Regions from separate parts of the Homo sapiens genome. Here region 1 is linked to region 2. The links are contacts of gene promoters, found by promoter capture Hi-C in human tissues and cell types (Jung and others, 2019). All regions are on one chromosome and are shown on one strand. Each heading gives the region's core, a stretch centred on a gene start or on the middle of the fragment in contact. The rest is flanking DNA. Distances are from core to core; before and after follow the strand shown. Region 1 overlaps KHDRBS2 (KH RNA binding domain containing, signal transduction associated 2). Region 2 holds the start of FKBP1C (FKBP prolyl isomerase family member 1C).

Region 1 (2,700 bases), core at 69-2,568, 1.1 Mb before region 2:
CACCATAAAATTATCTGCACAATAGTAAATTTCCAAGAAATCACATTTTAAATATTACTCTATTAGAATTCTAAAGGAGTGCTATTTAGCACCTACTCATTCTGATATTAAGAACTGATTATATTTGAGATATTAAGAATATTAGGATGCTTAAGAAATATTTACATTATTTATTTGAGACACAAAACATGGTGAAGCTAGCTAGATGAAACTGTTGGCAAGGTTAGATGAAATTCTGAATTAAGGCAATGGAGAATGTGGATTGAAAAGAAGGCATAAATGCAATGGCTAAACCATGAAAAATATGTGGAGTGAGATATAAAAAGCATAGGAAATAAGGCTGAGAATCATTAAAATATGGAGGGTGGTGAAAGCAGTGGAAAATTATCATCAAAGGTAACTGAGAAGAATAGGAAAGATTAGTGTTAAAGAAGCAAAGTGAGTTTCAGAAAAAAAAGGAAAAGGCAACAGGAAAACATATTACAGAAAATCCAAGGTCTTTAATATGCCACAAAAATGACTGCATCTCTAGAAGTCAAGAGTTTAATGTATAAATGACGTGTTATATTAAGCACAAACAAAATGCTGCTGAGAAACCAAGTCCATGAATCTTAGCTCTTAGGAAATTAGCAGAAGTACTGAGGAATGTATTTTTACCAGAATAATGAAAGGCAAAGGTCTTTAGCAATGTATTGACAAATAAATATAAAATAAGCATTAAGGTTAGAGTTAGGGTTAGGGTTAATTAGAAGACTGCAGAATCATAGAATGTTGTTACATGTTGAAAATTCATGAAAAAGGGGCACTGAAAGACAGTGATGGGAGGGAAAAATAATTTACTTGAATAAAGTTAGGGTTAAGATTGGGAAAAAGAGTATCTGACAAAGTGGATTTCCTTTGGGAATTAGCAAAATATGTGATCTGCTAATAGTTAAGAGGAGTGGCTGAAGGGCTTCTGAAGACTGGTGATGACTGAGAATTTGCTATGGAGAATCTGAAAGGGTGCTAAGTGGAAACAAACAAAAGAATTACCAACGTACATCAACAATTCAACTGGATGTTTGAAAGAGTTTGGAAATTATGTATAATTGTGTCTGGCAATTCCATTTGCCAATTTTCAGTGACGCTTGATAGATATATATAAGGGTAAAGAAGCATGAAATTTAGCTTAAAATATAATGGGACTTTGACAGGAATTGTTTTGAAAAAGGAAAAGAAGACTAGGGAAATGACAGCACTACTGAGTACTTCAAAGTGATTGATTAATCCCAGGATTCTGTCTGAATAGCAAATGACTCAAAGGCTGAAAAAACAGGAAGGGGTAGAAAGACTTGAAGCTTTGATAGCTATAAAAAATATTTAATTAAGCAAGACAGTGGGAGATGCAAAATTATAGAGAATGTATAGTGGAAATTTAGAAATTTGGTTTTTAGATATAAGAAATCTGAGAATATTGTGAAAGTGGAGGCAGTGGTGGTGGCATAGTGTTGAAATCTCCTGGAATGCTCTCATAAATACAAACTGAGCAACTGGATAGCAAATCCATAACAAAACGAGGTGACAAGGATTCCCCTTGAACCACACAACATAAATGATGGTAATCTGTCTTTTATTAGCATCTGTTCAGGATAAAGGAGAGAGAAGCAAGTTGTCTGACAAAGCTGAGAATAGGAGAATCCCAAAATCATTAAATTGTATTCACTGGAAAATGTAGTGGGCCAATTTGAGATCAGCAGTTGAACATGAGAGGAGTTTTTCTGAACACAGTAGCAGGTGGGTACAAGGCACCCACTGTAAGTTCTAAAGAGCAATGCAGCCACTATACCCTCTCCAAATTGACAGGCAGGGATCCATTTCATCATACTGAGCAAAAATTACCAAGAGTAAAGTCAAAATTGGAGCAGAACAGTGCAATAACTGAAAAAAAAAAAAGGAAAAGATATAGGTGAGAAAAGGGATGAGAGCCAGGAAATGACAAAAGCAATCCACTATATTGTTTAACTCAATACAAAAACAACAAAAGAAGGAACTATGTAAATTTATAAGACATGTATGAACCTTGTCTCTTTCTAGAAGATTCAGAAAAATATAAGTTCACATGAAAATGAGCAAAAGAAAAGGATCAAATCCAGTCTCATGCAGTTATTATAACTTAAAAAGAGAATATTGATCCATATAACATTCCACAAACAATGAAAGCATACCAGAAGGATATGGTCATAAAATACAAGAAAACTGTTTTTCACGATTCTAAACAACCTAAAAGACATTAAGAAAATTATATTGGAGTTAAAGATAAATCAGAATTAGGAAGAATAATGTTTTAGGATCTAAAAAATTAGATTTTAAAACTAAGGCAAAGATTAGAAATAAAAAGACAATTTCATAAATTTAGACTAATTTAGAAGACACAAAAATAAAAATTATGAAAAATAAAAGATAGAAATGAAAATTTAAAGGCCAAAAAGAAATAAAAAAAGATATTAAATAAAATTTAACAGAAAGTGAAATACTGAAGGTGAGTAAAATATTTCCAAATAGGATGAGATGGTTCCCTGAGAAGAAAACAAACCCGACCTTTCTCTCTAGTTGCCCTTAACATTTTTTCCTTTATTTCAAGCTTGGTGAATCTGATCATTATGTGTCTTGAGGTTGCACTTTTTGAGAGGTATCTTTGTGGTGTTCTCTGTATTTCCTGAA
Region 2 (2,759 bases), core at 207-2,706:
ATCTGATAATTTGTTGGAAATATTAGCATATAGATGGCTATGAAATGTGTGAAGTATTATCAGAAGAATTCTAATAAAAAATTTTTGCAGTGTAAGTCGACTATGGTTCTATTTCAAATGTAGTTAGGTTCTTAGCCCTAATGGCAAGCAGAGGCTACACTAAATGTATTTAACCTAAAGACAAGTTGATAAGAAATTTATAATTCCACTGTTTTTTAAAAATTACAAAAGTAAAAGGTATATACACATAACATCTACAGCAACAAAGAATGCAAAAACATTCTTTTCACATAGAAAGAGTTAAATATACATGCTTTCAAGAACAATAGCAGCTTCTCTTAAACTTTCTTAACTTACCTAGTGTTTTCTATCACTAAAAAAGCTGTATGTAAATCATTAAGTTTAGACTACTGAATCTATATCGTTCTTTGTAAACCAGACTCAAAGCATATTTCTTTCTAAGTTAACATGAACATAATAGAACACACAGAAAGAAAAATATAACTGTGAGTTTATATGCAAAGTACTGGACAACTTTCAAATATATACATCCTTCCTTTTTTCTTTAAAATATCTCTCTACACTGATACTTCTGGCAGAAACCTGACAATAGTGGCTACGCTAATCGTAGCATACTATTTAGATGGACAACAGTTAATTCATTTGAGCAAAAGTTTTAGAGATCTGTTTTAGACCTTTAAATCAAACTCCAGATATATACAATAGTATCCCTTATCCACAGTTTTGCTTTCTGCAGTTTCAGTTACCCATGGTCAATAGTGGTCTGCAAATATTAAATTGAAAGCTTCAGAAATAAACAATTCATAAGTTTTAAATTGCACACCATTCTGAGTAGTGTGAAGAAATCTCGAGCCATCCCGTTCCACTCTCACCTGACTGAGACGTGAATTATCCCATTGTCCACCATCTCCACACTGTATACCCTCCCTGTCTGTTAGTCACTCAGTAGCTGTCTTGGTTATCAGATCAATTGTAAGGTAGCTCAGAGCTTGTGTTTAATATGTACCCCTTATTTTACTTCATAATGGCCTCAAAGTGCAAGAGTAATGATGCTTTTATATTGTTATAACTGTTCTATTTTATTATTAGTCATTGTTTTTAGTCTCTTGCTGTGCCTAATTTATAAATTAAATTTTATCATAGGTATGTATGTACAGGAAAAAATATAGTATATATAGGGTTCTGTACTATCTGTGGTTCTGTGGTTTCAGGCACCCACTGGGGATCTTGGAACGTAGCCGCCACAGATAATGGGAGACCAAACACAAAGTTAACAAAGTTAACAAGGAAATGGTAACACTTCCAGTACGGGAAAAAAAAAAAAAAACCTATTTAGAGATTTTTAAGTGACTCATTCAACACACTTGCCCAGAAGGCACTAATATAGAATTTGTAGATTTTAAAAATACAGTATGGGCAGGCAACGCGCTGAGGGACTAGGCAGAGCCGTGGAACCGCCGCCAGGTCGCTGTCGGTCCACGCCGCCCGTCGCGCTGCCCGCCCGCTCGGCGTCGGCCGCCGCCATGGGAGTGCACGTGGAAACCATCTCCCCAGGAGACTGGCGCACCTTCCCGAAGCGCAGCCAGACCTGCGTGATGCACTACACCGGGATGCTTGAAGATGGAAAGAAATTTGATTCCTCCCGGGACAGAAACAAGCCCTTTAAGTTTATGCTAGGCAAGCAGGAGGTGATCCGAGGCTGGGAAGAAGGGGTTGTCCAGATGAGTGTGGGTCAGAGAGCCAAACTGACTATATCTCCAGATTATGCCTATGGTGCCACTGGGCACCCAGGCATCATCCCACCACATGCCACTCTCGTCTTCGATGTGGAGCTTCTAAAACTGGAATGACAGGAATGGCCTCCTCCCTTAGCTCCCTGTTCTTGGATCTGCCATGGAGGGATCTGGTGCCTCCAGACGTGTGCACATAAATCCATATGGAGCTTTTCCTGATGTTCCACTCCACTTTGTATAGACATCTGCCCCAACTGAATGTGTTCTGTCACTCAGCTTTGCTTCCGACACCTCTGTTTCCTCTTCCCCTTTCTCCTGGTATGTGCGTTTACCTAAACTATATGCCATAAACGTCAAGTTATTCATTTTACTTTTTCATTTTGGGGTGAAGATTCAGTTTCAGTCTTTTGAATATAGGTTTCCAATTAAGTACATGGTCAAGTGTTAACAGCACAAGTGATAAGTTAACGTTAGGATAGGAATTGGTGTTGAGGGGGTTGCAAGAATATTTTATTTTAATTTTTTGGATGAAATTTTTATCTATTATATATTAAACATTCTTGCTGCTGCGCTGCAAAACCATAGCAGATTTGAGGCACTGTTGAGGACTGAATTATTCTCCAAGTTGAGAGATGTCCTTGGGTTAAATTAAAAGCCCTACCTAAAACTGAGGTGGGGATGGGGAGAGGCTTTGCCTCCACCATTCCCACCCCACCCTCCCCTTAAACCCTCTGCCTTTGAAAGCAGGTCATGTTCACTGCGATGCTGGACACTACAGGTATCTGTCCCTGGGCCAGCAGGGACCTCTGAAGCCTTCTTTGTGGCCTTATTTTTTTTTTTTTTTTTTTCATCCTGTGGTTTTTCTAACGGACTTTCAGGAATTTTGTAATCTCATAACTTTCCAAGCTCCACCACTTCCTAAATCTTAAGAACTTTAATTGACAGTTTCAATTGAAGGTGCTGTTTGTAGACTTAACACCCAGTGAAAGCCCAGCCATCATGACA

Evidence for each region. Contacts are between HindIII fragments. The study calls those that stand out against the background at their distance.
Region 1: a fragment that was not itself captured here is called in contact with the fragment with the promoter of FKBP1C in region 2 in 1 of the 25 tissues and cell types used here (lymphoblastoid cells).

The regions. Positions count from the first base shown.
Region 1 is chr6:62,085,024-62,087,723 of GRCh38, forward strand. The region is part of intron 2 of KHDRBS2 (KH RNA binding domain containing, signal transduction associated 2); the gene reads right to left. Among named protein-coding and RNA genes, the nearest start is that of KHDRBS2, 200 kb to the right of the region's middle. The HindIII fragment of the contact is 3,533 bases long and covers 1-2,700 here.
Region 2 is chr6:63,210,013-63,212,771 of GRCh38, forward strand. FKBP1C (FKBP prolyl isomerase family member 1C) reads left to right here and starts at 1,457. Exons shown (of 1, transcript NM_001395980.1): 1 at 1,457-2,759. The coding sequence starts at 1,545. The coding sequence ends at 1,871. The HindIII fragment of the contact is 10,095 bases long and covers 1-2,759 here.